Regions from separate parts of the Homo sapiens genome. Here region 2 is linked to region 1. The links are contacts of gene promoters, found by promoter capture Hi-C in blood cells and fetal thymus (Javierre and others, 2016). All regions are on one chromosome and are shown on one strand. The core of a region is centred on a gene start or on the middle of the fragment in contact, and the rest is flanking DNA. Distances in the headings are between cores, read along the strand shown.

Evidence for each region. Contacts are between HindIII fragments. The CHiCAGO score rates a contact against its expected background, and 5 or more counts as called.
Region 2: a contact is called between a fragment that was not itself captured here and the fragment with the promoter of ACTR3 in region 1, in 2 of 17 cell types (fetal thymus and total CD4 T cells). The highest score is 10.8, in fetal thymus.

What each region holds. Positions count from the first base shown.
Region 1 is chr2:113,885,370-113,892,813 of GRCh38, reverse strand. ACTR3 (actin related protein 3) reads right to left here and starts at 2,725. Exons shown (of 12, transcript NM_005721.5): 1 at 2,491-2,725. The coding sequence starts at 2,534. It overlaps ACTR3-AS1 (ACTR3 antisense RNA 1), which reads left to right and starts at 1,822. Exons shown (of 5, transcript NR_110174.1): 1 at 1,822-1,921. It overlaps LOC124906071 (a long non-coding RNA gene), which reads left to right and starts at 3,047. Exons shown (of 3, transcript XR_007087205.1): 1 at 3,047-4,751. RefSeq lists enhancers at 1,785-1,964, 2,015-2,064, 2,147-2,802, 2,835-2,924, 3,045-3,354 and 2 more and silencers at 2,195-2,454, 2,695-2,754. The HindIII fragment of the contact is 5,488 bases long and covers 1-4,405 here.
Region 2 is chr2:152,711,511-152,718,954 of GRCh38, reverse strand. It overlaps PRPF40A (pre-mRNA processing factor 40A), which reads left to right and starts at 1,494. Exons shown (of 26, transcript NM_001365597.4): 1 at 1,494-1,725; 2 at 2,829-2,960. The coding sequence starts at 1,516. ARL6IP6 (ARF like GTPase 6 interacting protein 6) reads right to left here and starts at 335. Exons shown (of 4, transcript NM_152522.7): 1 at 1-335. The coding sequence starts at 330. RefSeq lists enhancers at 1-24, 75-124, 165-364, 595-684, 1,495-1,794 and 2 more and a silencer at 995-1,094. The HindIII fragment of the contact is 196 bases long and covers 2,535-2,730 here.

The sequences.
Region 1 (7,444 bases), core at 1,476-3,975:
AATTTATATAATGAATGAAATGAGCAACCTGATTCAGGTTATAACTTTTTACTTAAACTAAGTGAGTAATTGTAATTTAGAGACCTCAGAGCTGAATGCATTCTCTAAAGCATAAAAAAAATTAGACAAATTACAGGTGCACAATTTGCATTCGGGGACCACAGAATTTTGAAATGTAAAAGCTCCCTGTTAAGGCCATACTTAGAGATGTTTATCTCAGGGTCCTCAACCTCAAGGACTTATCCTCCATGTGCAAATAAAGCTGAAGGTGTAACTTCCCAGGAGGCACCACTGGAAACTTGTAAGACCAAAAAGGCTTTTGAGAACCAAAATAACTGAAACTCTAAAGGGGGAATTTCAGATTGTGACAAATGGTAAAAGAGAGTGAGGTGGCAAGGGGACTCCTAATCAGTTCCATTCAAATCATCAATGTGCAGTTAATAACCTCTCCTTATTGGAGAAACCAATGTAATAACTTAAAAATACACTATTGTGATAATCGTAATTTTAAAACAGAAATAGCCTAGGTTAAATTGAACCCCTCTTCCCGATCCTACTGGTCATTCAGCATGTTTTAAATTCAAGGTTGCCCTTTAGGAAAGGAGGTCACTTAAGGACAGTTTATCTCAATGAAACATCTTGTATACTAATTCGAAACTATTTCAAAAGGGGGAAAATGGAGATTAGAAAAGTAACATACTACTTGAGATGTTACCATATTATTTCTCAGGGCCACAATTATTTACACTATTTTTTTGAAAACGCAGTAATTTCTAAAGCATTAATTATGTAGCAATATTCGTCACTTTAACAAAACACATTTGAAAAGTCCTATCCTACTGACTCAGGCCAAATCTAATTTTAAAACTGAACCTAGACATAAAAATACTCACCAATTAGACTAAGAAGGGAGAAATAAAAAAAATTATTGGTTCAGAGAAATGAGACTGAATTAAGGAAAAACTTTTAAATAAAGTGTTCATCAAAAAAATACATAGAAGTTCCAAGGCTAGTGTTTTCCTAGGAGAATATTAAGAAGTTGGTGGTTTCTCTCTACCTAACTGGGATTTTAGAAACTGCCACACTAGCTAGTTATGAGAATGAAGATTAAAGAAATTTCACATAAAGAGTGAAGGACACACAATCTTTTAAGTAACAATAATGAAATCAATAATTATAATTAATAATAAAAAAAAAAGCCTGACAGTCCACCTCTTACTGACTTCCCCCTCAAAAAAAAAAAACTGGGAGTGTTCTGGGAATTGGAGAGATGTCATCAGCACAGAAAAAAAAACCACTTTCCTATATGTCATCCTGAAGCAGTGATTCTACATAAAAATAAGGGTAGTCTATTCTCTATGCAGTTATGAGTGTGGTACAACTCTCTAAAACGTCTATTAATACAAAATGAACGACCACACTTTAAAGCCACTCTACATTTTCGCAAACTACCCTACATATCTACGAGTAACTATTTGCAACTTAAACACCCTCCTATATACCTCTATACCTTCCTGCTTCCTTCAAGATACCATCACAGAATGAACGAATACAACTTAAATTAGTTTATTTTCCAGGGTGCTTCCTTTCCCCCACTCCATGAAACATAAGTACATTTTTTTAAGTCATATAAATGGACACCAAGCACCGGTAATTCAGTCTCTTTAAAACCTGCTTAAAAGTTCTAGTAAGATGTGCTCAGGTTGGAAACTAAAAACTACCTTATAAGGGTATAAAAGACTGAAAGCAGGAAGCGGCTTTGACAAAACTAAGGAAGTTGCAGCGCGCTTGCTCACTGGGGGACTTTTTTGAGGCTACAGAAGTAACACATGACATCTTTCTCCCTCGAATTAAAATGTGACTTGGTTCACCGGTTAAAACGCAGAGGGAGATGGAAATGACCAGGAGTCGAAAGGAGAAGGTGGGTGGTCAAATGAAAGCCCCACTGTAGGTTCCCATTTTCAGAGTCCGATTCTTCCCTTTCCCCACCCACACCCTGGGCAGAATGTTGTCACAGCGATCTTGTCAAACCTACCAGGAGCGCTTCTCTTTTCTAGCTCCCCTGCCAGGCCAGTCCCCGAGCTCGGCCCCTGGGTCCCCAAACCGACTGGCAAAAACGGGCGCGGAGGGAAAGGAAAGCCGGATGGGTCGGGCCCGGGGACCACCCCCAAGACGACCGTCCCCAGCGCCCTTTGGGCGGCGCTGCCCACCGTAGTGGGGGAAGGGCCGGGAGGGGTCGCGCGGAGAAAGCCGCTGGGAGGGTTGGGGGTTGAATCTCGGGCCCGCGCCCCCGCCCCAGTCCCAGGAGGGAGAAACGAGGGGACCCGCGAGGCCCTGGCTGCGGGCCCCACCCCTCGCTGGCCGGCGGGTCTAGGACTGACAGCCGGCGGCGGCACCTCGCCGCACCATTCATTTCCCGGCCTCCTCCCTCCCCCGCCATCTTCCTTCCTCCGCCTCAGTTTCCCCACCCCCGCCCGTAAGCCCCCTTACCCCGTGCCACAGTCCACCACACAGGCCGGCAGCCGTCCCGCCATCTTCCTCCTCGCCTGCTGCTGCTGCTGCCGCCGTCTGCTCCGTGCTGCTAGGGGCCAGAGATTGGCGGCGGGAGACAAGGGCTATCTGACCATCCACAGCTGGGCCGCCTTCACCGTCCGGGGGGTAGCCGGGAAGCCGAAGCAGTAGCAAGAAAGCAGCAGGCTCGGTCGGCGGCTATCACTTCCGCAACCCAGGCAGGCAGGCAGTCCCCGCCCTGCCCCGCCGCGGCCTCCTCCCCCTCTCTCTTCCCTCCTCCTCACTCCTGCCCCCACCCTACAACTTCTTCCCCTCACGCCGCCTTTCCCCGGGAAGCCAAGATGGCCGCCGGTGCCGACGCCCCGGCCAGGCCAGGCCCAGGCCCCCAGCGCTCCCCCTTCCGCTCCGAGCGGGAGGGGCTAGCGAGCATGCGCAATAAGGTACGTTCGCCTGCCTGGGCTCCGATCCTGAAGTTGGTGAAATCCACTGCGGGTTTTCCAGGAGTGTAGAGGCGGAGAAGTCTATCCGAGCTTCCAGTTCTGCTTCTGAAGCTGGAAGGGGCTTTTCGGTTGTAACCCTTGGGTTAGTTTCAGTTACTTCTTTGCTAGGTTGAGGAAAGGGTGGAAGCGCCTCCTGCAGCCACGAATATCCTCCAGTGCCTGAGAGAAAACGGCCTAATCGAAAACGTCCGCGGCATACATCCATTCTTAAAACTTGAGTGGCTGCTTTTCTGGGTGGAAAAGAGCGGTATCAGACAGGGTGAGCAGTCGGGGAACGGATGAACAAAGACTTGCACCGTGGCCCTGATGCCTTTGTTCCGAGTTCTATTCAGTTGTACTTGTGCGTTGTTACAGGACTTTAGAATGCAGCCCTGCCCCCCAACCCCCACCTCCCAGGGCCGACCTGTGCTCCTAGGAAGGCAAACCTCCCAGGAATATATTCTGCATAACTATACAAATAGGCCTTTATTCAAGGCTTTTGGATTATGACAAAGATTACCCTCAGGAGTAGTAAGATTCTACTAGCAGGATAATAGAAAGGATTAAGGCTCCCCTCCAAAGAAAATTTTTTTAAGTTAGAAACGGAGGCGAGCCGCAGTGGGTCATGCCTGTAATTTCAATGCTTTGGAAGGCCGAGGTGGGAGGATAGGATAGCTTGAGGCTAGGAGTTCGAGACCAGCCTGGGCAACATGGGGAGACCCCCCCCCATCCCTCCAAAAAAGAAAAGAAAACTGGAAAGCCTTAAAGAAACCTTTCAAACTTTAGTGTGTATCAGAATTACCTGAAAGGTTTGTTAAAACAGATTGCTGGGCCATACCCCCAGAATTCTCTGACTGGGCTATCGGAAATAATGCCTGAGAATGTGCATATCTAATAAGTTCCTAGTTCCACTTTAGGACCCTAGAAGGTTAGTATCTTTCCTCTCTACCAGGCTTATCTTAGGATGAACCGTTCGGGGTTTGCTGATGTGAAGCTAAAACAAAAATATTCTTTAAAAGGAGGGATGTCTTATTCAGTCCATAAGATCATCTAATGTATTAAGCTGGCTTGGGGGATGAATCGGGTGTTTCATTCATTCATTTGACAGGTAAGCATTGCTTACCTACTCTATTATGACGGGGTCTGTGCTGACTCCGAATATTCGGTGGGATGCAAAATAGTTAAGTGCTCTTGTAGAGTTTACAGATTAGCGGAAAACAGACAAATTGTGTTAAGAGCAATAGAAAGAAGAGAGCGGAGGACTCTGAGAAATGAAGGCGAGGAGTGGGAGAATGAGAGGAAGGTGGAAGGCAGGTAAGGAGTCTGACCAGCTGGTATTTAAAAGCTAAGATGGGGGGAAGAGTCTCCCAGGAGAGTGAACAGCAAGTGTCAAGGACCTGAGGCAGGAACAAGCTTGGCTTCTTCCACAAATTGAAAGAAGATCCATATGAAAGAGTCAGAGAAGATGCAATGGGAGATGAAGACTGAGAGATAAGGAAGAGTGAAACAGTGCAAGAATTTGTAGACTGCTCTAAGCATTTTAAAGTTTATCTTAAAAGCAGCTTGATAAATTAGATTTATGGTAATTAGTTTAAAAATAAAAATAAAGCAACTTGAAAGGATTTAGGCAAGAAAAAGTTGTGTCTGCTTTGTAGAGAATGGCTCCAGCAGAGTCCAGATTGAATCATACATTGTATGATATTCTGTGTTCCGGAGTTCGCAGATAGAAGTATGTGAGGGCCAGCATCCAAATGGAATCAGGTATGTGCAGAGGAGACTCACTAAAGGGCATCATCATCAATTAGTGCCCAGCATGTCTGCAGCTATTCACGAGAGAAGGCTTTTTTTAGAGGTTGTTTTCAGAGAAGTCAAACAACTGGTTGTCTCAGATTCGTTGTCGTTGGTTTCTCCACTACATTTTAGAAGATGCTAGATGGGGACTCTTTGCTGCCGCTTCTACTACCTGGTAATTAAAGTCTTTTGAGGAAGCATATGCTTGAAGATTGGCTCTGACAGAAAAGACAGATGTGGTTTAGTAGGGGTAGAATAAATGGTTGTTTCCAGCAGTTACAAGTAGTAAGTCAGGAGTGAAGAGATCCTACCAAAGAAGTTTCGAGAGCAGAGGTTAGTGCCCTCGGTCACTTGGGCAGCCCATGCCGGTGGCCCTCAAGGTAGCTGCCCACACTCTGGCCTTGCACAGTTGTCATGGAAGTAGTTAACTCAAGCAGGGTTGGAAACTAGTGCTTCGAGGTCTAGGCAGGTACTGTTATGAGTGAAGGGGGCCATGAGGAGGGTATGGCAATGTGAGAGCCCACAACCCAACAGAAGGCAACAGACAACTGTTGCCATGTGGAAATACAGCCCTGGTATTGCCAGAGCCTTTTTTCTTCCCCAAGAGAAATCTGAAATCTGCATTTTTATCTTTGGTAACTGTAATGGTTTGAATGTGTTCCCCAAAGTTCATGTGTGAGAAATATAATTTCCAGTGCAACAGTGCTGAGAGGTGGGAGCTTTAAGAGGTGATTAGGCCAGGAGGACACTGTCTTCATGAATGAATCACAGGACTGGGTGCCTGATAAAAAGGAGTTTGCCCCCGCTTCCCTCTCTCTCTTTTGCCCATGTGATGCCTTCCACCATGTTTTGACACAGCAGGGACGCCTTCACGAGATGATGGCCCTTTGATCTTGGACTTCCCAGCCTCTAAAACTATGAAAAATAATTTGTGTTCTCTATAAAGTACCCAGTCTCTGATATTCTGTAAGCAGCACAAACTAGGCTAAGATAGTAACTAATTTTTTTCTGCATGTCATATCTGACCTGTGGTCTGCCAGTTTGCATCTTTTGATTTCGGAAGCTACATGTGGTTCAGTAGTTTGCTGCCTTCAAATATGAAGCTCATGTCAGTGCTAAGTACTGTCTCTCATTTCATAGGCATGAGGAAACTGTCACAGTCTCACATAGTCAAGACTGTCCTGTGTTTGTACAGGCAGTAACTGTTAGAAGCATTTGGAAGCTTTCAGTGCTTGTTGGAAATGTCATTGGTGCTCATTCCTCATAATCTTGTCTACCCAAACACTTTGCTTGCTTAAGATCCCTTCTACTTCCTGCTTGCTGCATGCCAAATTGGTCAGCCTCTCTGCTACTGTGGTGGCCCAGCCTTCCTCAGCTGCACATAGCCTTCAGTCACACATCCGGCCAAAGCATTTCTGACCACCCTGTTTGCATATGCACCCACTCCCTGCTTACTCATCTCCAAACACAGAAGCAAAGGATGTCAGAGACAGTTCATCCTTCATTTCATATTTGTCCCTAATAGCACCTCAATTTCCTTTCAGTTCAGGTCAACCCGGTCCTTGGTTCTTACCCATTTCCAAACCTGTTCCGAAACTTTCAAGCATTTGTGAGTCTTGCAGTATCCTTCTCCTGTGGCTCAAGTTAGCCACAGCAAGTTCCCATTACTTGCATCAAATTTGAGAAGCCTTAGTGGTACAGAAGCCCATAGAGTTTAAGTGAGTTTTCCCAATATCTTTTTCTTTTTTTTTTTGAGATGGAATCTTGCTCTGTCGCCCAGGCTGGAGTGCAGTGTAGTGCGATCTCGGCTCACTGCAAGCTCTGCCTCCTGGGTTCATGCCATTCTCCTACCTCAGCCTCCTGAGTAGCTGGGACTACAGGCGCCCGCCACCATACCCGGCTAATTTTTTTTTTTTTTTTTTGTATTTTTTGTAGAGACGGGGTTTCACTGTGTTAGCCAGGATGGTCTCAATCTCCTGACCTCGTGATCTGCCCGCCTCGGCCTCCCAAAGTGCTGGGATTACAGGTGTGAGCCACCACTCCCGGCCCCCAATATGTTAAAGAAACTAAGGAACAGAAGTCCAAGTCAAAATCCAGTTCTTACGCCTTTTGGGGGGCTCTTTAATTGTAACGACAAATTAGCAAATTGTCTTTGGATCTTAAAAAGTGTCCAGGAAATTTATGTCACTCAATTTCCATTATTTTAAGATGAGAAATAGTATTTTAAAAATCAACTTAGGTACGTACTACAGGGCTGACTGTTTGCAAATTGGCAGATGAATCAGATTCACAGAGAGCCTTAATTCAGAGCAGGTAAGTTGTAAAAGTACCCCAAGCAGCCTAGTGGTCAGAGGGGAGGGACTGTGAAAACTGTCTTCTCTCTTCTCAAGTTGTGTGATCTTAGCAACTAACTTCTTATGTAGAGAGAGCACTGATTTTAGACTCAAGAGACTTGAATTGAGTATGAACTCTTTCACTTACTCTGTTTCTTCATCTATAAAATTCACAGGAATATTTAACCTATAGGGTTGTTGTAAAGCTTGAATTTGGTAAGAAGCCTATTATAAATTACAGAGTGACCTTATTATGGACAGATCAAGAGGAATATGGTTTAATTATAAAGTAATCACTGACTTAGTACTTAAACATACAAAAGGAAACAC
Region 2 (7,444 bases), core at 1,383-3,882, about 39 Mb before region 1:
AGAGAGGACCTGGACCGGCCACCGCCGAGGCTGGGCTCTGCTGCCCGCGGCCGCGGGAAAGATACCATTGCGCTTATCGGGCAGAACGGGCGACCCGTTCCCGTCCGGCGGGAGCACCGAGCGCTTTCTGGGCTCTGACCACGCCCCAGCCGAGAACTCCGCCCGCAGGTCGCGGGCCACTTGGTCGCATCCCTCCTCCTCGTCGACTTCGCCTTCACCCCAGCTGTCCCCCTGAGTAAAGGAGGAATACGATGGCCGAGCCACAGGGCCCGGGGTGCCGGGACCGCGGCGCCGCAGAGCCGACCGCCACCCGCTCTCAGCAAACGACATGGCGCGAAACACAACGAAACCCGCGGAGAACGAGCCTCTCCCACCTGCCCCGCCCCGGGTCCGCAACAGCCAATCCGCGGCAGTGGCCGCTACCACCAGGCCTCAGAGCCCAGGGGTAAACCACGGAGAGCAAGGGTGGGCGGCGGGTTGCAAAGGAAGCCGCAGGGCCAAAGGAGAGGCGGAATGCGCTTCGACCAGAGCTCGACCCCAGGGCTGTAGCCGGAAAGGGGAGCAGGAAAGCGCGCAGGGAGAAGCGAGCGGAGGCCGAAGGCTGTCGAGTATCCACTCCCTGCGGGGCTTCGTCCCGGCCGGAGACCTCCGCCACCCCCGCGTCACCAACGGGAGCGCGCGCCCCGACAGCCCCAAAGCCTCATCTTTTCGACGCCGGGTCCTAGCGCCCGCTCGCGCCCTCGGAGACACATTCCCGAACCTATTTGTCTTCTCCCTTCTTCCCCACTACGCTCACACTCTTCTCCAGGTTCCCCCATTAAGGGCACCTCTCTACCTGGCGCTCTCGCGGTTCCTTAACTGCTCACCCCCATCTCCCTTTAGTGTGGTTCTCCCCACCCGTACTACAACTTCCCTCCCGCTACTCGACACGCCTCCTTCCCCAGGCGCGCGCTCTCCACCTGGTGCGTACGGAGATCGAACCCTCTCCTCCGAACCCCTCCTTTCGCCTTCCCCGCCTCCTCCCCTCCGCCTCGAGCACCGCGCGCGCGCATTCGGTCCCAGCCACCGCTAACACTACAGGCTGCTTACCCCCGCCCCCTCCACCCTACCCCTGGCGGCCTCAGGTTTGTGGGGCGTACGTAACTCGGGCGGGGAGGGTGAAGGTGGCAGACCCCCACTGCCCCACCCCCTACGGGGTGAGGCGGTCTAAGCTCGGGAAGCTGGGACACTGTTGTCTTCCCTTCCCCTGGGGAAGTTGGTAGAGTTTTCCCGACGGAGGACTCGGCGCAGAAACTTCCTCCGTCCTCCTCCTCCCCCCCCCCCATGCAGGCGACGCCGAGTGAGGCTGAGGCTGGGGGCGAATCGCCGCAGAGCTGCGTGTCGGCGGCGCATTCTGATTGGACAGCGGGGAAGCCCGTCAGCCTGTTGGCCCCGCTGATCCCGCCCCGTAGCGCAGGGCAGCCTTTAACCTTTAGCCCCAGTGGGCGCCAGCCACTCAGATCGCTTCTTGTTGGTATGTGTAGCGGCAGTGGCCGCCGGCGGAGCAGTCTGAGCCCGACGATGAGGCCGGGGACGGGAGCTGAGCGTGGAGGCCTCATGGTGAGTGAAATGGAGAGCCATCCTCCCTCGCAGGGTCCTGGGGACGGGGAGCGGAGATTGTCCGGCTCAAGCCTCTGCTCCGGCTCTTGGGTCTCTGCTGACGGCTTCCTGAGGAGACGGCCCTCGGTAAGGGATCAGTGGGGCAGGGGGAAGGCGGCACAATGAAAAACGGAGTGAGAAACAGGAAGCTTTCTCCGAAAGGAGAAGAAGATAAGAGTGGACGAAGGAAGAACTCGAGATGGTGGGATATGTTCTGAGGGAGAGAAGTGGAGGGTGGAAATGCACAAAGAGAAGGATGTGAGACCCTGGAAGTTCCCCGTGGGCTTGGCCTAGACAGATGCGTGGTGAAGGTGCTGGCTCTTGGGCGGGGTGAGCGTCTTGGAGCTTTAGGCCCGATTTTAGCTGGGAGGGGGAGGCAGGGGCTTGATACTGTAAGACTTTAACAGCGGCTGCCAAAATTTGTTTTCATTAGTCGTCGGGGTGGTCTGCAGGGGGAACTGTTGGGACAATTGGCAGGAGATAATTAGGTGGTTTTAATTTAAAACATAGAACAATGGACTCATCGGTAAAGAAAGTAGTTGTCTTTTTAAACTGCGTTAAAAAGGATGAATTAGTTGTTTGCATTTAGTGTCCGTGAGTGACAGAACCTCAGTCTTTGAAAATGTATTTTTGGCAGAAGGAATTTTACCTGTCTTAAAGGTTATGTTAGGAAATAAGTTTGTTAGGAGTGAATTGTGCCTGGGTAGCCATACTGTTTGTGTTTTGTAAGACCGACTCTCACCTGAGTTAATTGGATAGAGCATTTTAAAGTTTAAAATCAGTAGTGTTATAAAATAACAATAGCTGGCTATCTTTTATATCTGCATGAAATAGGAGAGTTGTTGTTTTCACCATAACAGTTTTAAAATTAGTATTCAATGTGTATCCTCCAAGCTTAGCAAGCCAATTAGTAGCTGGTTAAGTCAGTGCTTAAAAAAAAGAGAGAGAAAACCTATGATCCAGCGGTCCAGGATTCATCTTAACTTTTCCCATTTTTTTACGGAATTTGCAAGCTCGTTTTAAATACTAGCAGAATGCGTTTTGTTTGAAACAAGGTATAGACTAATCCAATGATGTTATTACACATAAGCTTAATATTATGTCGCTTCAGATAACTGATCTGTTGAAATGAGATTTTTGAGAAGCATTTAGTATTATTTGCTCATTTAAAAATGTTCACTGTTTTTCAGATGGGGCACCCTGGCATGCATTATGCCCCAATGGGAATGCACCCTATGGGTCAGAGAGCGAATATGCCTCCTGTACCTCATGGAATGATGCCGCAGATGATGCCCCCTATGGGAGGGCCACCAATGGGACAAGTAAGACTGTTTTTGTTTTATTTTGCATTTATTTATTTGTTTTTGCCTCAGGTATTCTATCAAGATTTCAGAATCTAGGTCAGTAGTTATAGCTGTTTAATGATTAGTTTATGCCCGAATAATTTCAAATAAGCCAAATGTTAAATCATGACTGTAACGGAAATTTGAATAATGGAAAAGTCTTCTGAGAAATTTAAATAATGAAAAAGTCTTCTGAGAAATTTACTGATGACCTCAAAACTAAGAATTTTTTTCTTTATTATTTAAAAGTAAAGTGTGGATCCAGGCTTTTATTTTTAATGATTATTTTTTCAAGAATGCCAATTGAAGTTGATGGTCTAAGTAAATATTATCTGATACAGCAACATAACTGATTTTGGTAGACCATGTAAATAAATAGAATCTGAAAATAGCTATTGTTTTGGTTTAGAGCGAATTTTATTCCTGAAATATCTTCCTCTTTGTGTGTTGGAGGAGGGTGAGGGAGGGTGGGGAGTTTGTGCTCTATAATTCTGATTCTTCATAGGACAGTGCCAATAGGTAGTTCATTTTCCACTTATACTATTTTTTTTTAATGCTTGTTGCTTCTACACTCCTGCTTATGAGCTGTCCCTTCCATCTCTAGCATAAATTGTAAATGGACATTTTGTAGGAGTGATTTGGATCAAAAGGTTTTAATGCTGATTCAGTGATTTCGGTAGAACTGAGTTTCTAGAGAAGCATCCAAGAAAGGTAACAGGTTCAGTTACCATGAGTAATTTTGTGCTTCATGTTAAGTTCTATAATAGATCTTTAGGTGGCTGGGTTATTTCCATTTGAGTATTTCCATAAATCATCAAAAATTTAGGCTAACAAAATATTTTGGAAGCCAATTTCATGTGATCTTTTGCTAATTAGTACTGTTTGATAATTGTTTAAGCTTTCATGGTTAAAGTTATTGGTGAAATTGCAGTGGGAAAAGGAGCTTGCTATGTGTCTGTCTCTTTTTACTTAACCTTAAGAGTAGAAGGGCTTAATGTCCAGTGATTTTCCTCTTTTTTTTTTTAATTTGGAATATTGCCCTTAATTTTGTTAAAAAACAAAACAAAACCTTTATTCAAAGGCACCAGCCCCAAAAGATTCTGCTTGCAGGAGTTCTTTAAATAAAAGAGCCTTTTATTCTGTTACTCTAGAATAACACAAATTTTAAAACTCTCTAGGTGATGGAGAAACAACTTTGATTCCTCTTCTGTTTCTTTCCATCTCTAAGGAGCAAGGAGCTCTTCTTGTTTTCTTGGTAGAGCTGCTCTAACTAGATAATGAGCTTTAAAAATATTTATTCTTTAAATGCTCTGGTTCTTATTTAAAATTAGTTTCTTTCCACAGAAAGATAAAATAAAACAATTTGCTACTGCCAGATGCTTCTCTCTTTTCTGGGGCCTTCTGTTTCCATTGGGCCAATCAAGGTAAGTTTTGCAAGGGATTGACCTGCTTACCCTTGCTGTAATGGTGCTATTGCACTACCAAAACCAAGATACCAGCTAGTCATAGTTCTAGTTAAAAAAAAAAATGCAGATTTTATTTTTTAAAAGTACTTTCATGTATCTCATTGACATAAGCTGGTCACAGTTTGCTTTATGGCCCTTTCTCTTTAGCTGTATCAGTGACCATCTTTCTAGTAAGTTTACTTGCTACTCGGTACACATCCATTCAAATAACTGATTTTTTTGGTGTGGTTTTCTTCTACTTTTTCCTAGGCTAATATATGCCACGTGCCTTTAAGTAGACCTAATTATTTAGATGTTTAGAATTCTTCTCCCTCTGAAGGCTCCTGTTAGTATAATAAATAAATGTTTTAGTAGGAGTTATGCCCTGAAAGTCCCAAAAGAATCTCCGCTGTTTTTGTCAGAATTATATAATTCCCTTTTATCCCCTTAATATTTCACTAACAAATATGGGTCCCAAATCTTGGTAAAACAAATTCTTGTTTTAGCTTTATAACAGACTGGGAGAGCATGGATAATTTGAATTCTCAAATCAGAAATCATATTTGAAACTCTGTAAACATTGCTTTAAAAATTAAAGGTGATAATAAATAGGACAATTGATCCTTTTTCCTGCATTATTTCTTCTGCCACTCTTGGAAGTACTCAGGAGGAATAAGTGGTCAGAAGATAATTGAGAAGAAGCAGGATGTCTGTCTGTATCATTCACAGTAGTGACAGTTGGGAGGGTTCTGCCATGCAATTTAAAAAAGTCAGTTCACAAATTCTTTAGACTTTGGGACTGAAGGTTATAAAAACCTTCATGTGTTGACTGGTTTGCATGAACATCTCATGCTGGGACTAGCTAAAGACTAAAATTGGTGGCAGTCTTACTTGCCAAATAATTGTGGTCTTTGGAATGTTACCAATATGACATGAAACTGTAAAACTTGTTTGTAAAATAATATGCAGACTGGGTAGCATAATGATGTACGGAAGCCAGGGTTCATAATTTCTCAAATGCATCAAGCTATTTAGCTTAAAGAAGTGGTGTGTTCAAATTTTTTTTTTCTTAATTCATGAGATGACCTAGAGTGCCATCTCATGCATTTAGGCTGACTCTTAGTAGTAATAAATATTTGATGATTATCAAATTGAGCTTAATATTCTTTCAGGTTTATTTCAGTTTTCTATCTTGTAGATTAAATTTGCCTCTTATTCTATATAACTTTATAGGAAAGTCATACTTTTAGAGTTATAGGATCTTATAGCTGAAAGGGACCTTACAGGTTGTTTAAGCTTTAAATAATATGTGATTTAAGATGCTTTGAGGATCACTGGTTAAATGTTAGTAAAGAAAGATAAAGAATTTTCCCTGCTGGATGGCAGTACTCAAAAATTTCCCATTGGGAGGCTGAGGCGGGTGCATCGCTTGAGCTCAGGAGTTGGAGACCAGCCTGGGCAACATGGTGAAACCCCATCTCTACAAAAACTATTTAAAAATAAGCTGGGTGTGGTGGTGTGCGTCTGTCGTCCCAGCTACTTAGGGGGCTGAGGCAGAAGGATTGCTTGAACCTGGGAGGTCGAGGCTGCAGTGAGTCAAGATCACGCCTTGCACTCCATCCTGGGTGACAAAGTGAGACCCTATCTCAAAAAAATAAAGATTTTCTGTAGAGATTTCTATCAATAAAATTATGTGTGAGGCTGTCTTCTTCCTCAGTGTCCATAGTAAATACTGTTTTCATGTCTTTTGTGTTTTCTACACAAAGGACATGCAGGTCCTGCCATCTTTATCACAGATGATTATGCCTTTGCCCCAGAGTCATGCTAGCTGGCTCTTTTTTTTTCCTCCCTATTTGAGTCTTTATTTTCCTCTATCAGTGAGAAGAGTAGAGTAATTGAGTTAAGGTCCCTTTCAGCTCTAACATCCTATGATTCAGTTCAGATCATTTGATAAGAGTAGATATCAGATTTTATGGGATGATATGGAAAGAACAGAAAATTCCTTTAGTAATGCCTCCCTAATTCTATTTATTCAGTGCTTTTTTTTTTTGGTCTTTGGTCAGTAAACTGATAAATGAATAATTGCTTTTTACAAATGAGTTTGATTTTCTTGCTCCTATATTGAGTAAGGCTGGCTCTAATAGATCTTATTTTATTTCAGTTCCTGCTACCACATGAGCCCAAGTCGTCACTCTCCCATGCCTAGGTTATTCAACAGTTTTTGAGTTGAGTTGGTTTTCTTGCTTCAAGGATGCCCCCCTGCCCCCACAAATTTTAGATTTCAATGTGTTATCTCCTTGCCCAAGAATCTCCAGTACTTTCAGTGCCTATAACATAGTATCTAAATTCCACAGCTTAACTTTAAAGAACCTCCCCATAGTACATGTCAAAGCAGGATTCAAGGCTGCATGTCTTTACACTCCCTAATTTGAACTTAGGCTGGTCTTTTCACGGTGTCTTGAGTGATTATATTAGTTCACAACTTCAAACTTAGGCTGTTCTTCTTACCCTCCTGCCCCCAGCTCAGTATCACCATGAAGTTTGCTTTGCTTACCTATGTTGTACTATTTCAAGTCCTGCCTTCTCCAAAAGTTTCTCAAAAATGACTTTTGCCAACATATACCTCCCCTTCAGATTATTAAAGAAAATATTTGTAATCTACCCATAACTCTTACCGTTTCACTTATTTTGGCACCTAGTTATTGACTTGTTTTATGGTTTCTTAATTTGCTTTAATTTTCCAACAAGTAATAGATTGTAAGCTCTTAGAGGGCAGGGGCTATGTTCTGTACTTTTTAAGAAGCCTATAGGTGCTGAGCACAGTTCTTGGCACATCATGGGTGCTCAGTAAAATACTTGTTGAATGAATGAAACAAATACACAGGTATTCTTTCCTGCAGTATAAGCCCATAAGTCAGTCAGTGTTAAATGTGACTGTTTCCAGTGGTTACTTGTGACTTTACGTTGTTACTACTTATTCTTGTTTTTAGTGTCTGCCTCTTTACTCTTACTTTTTCA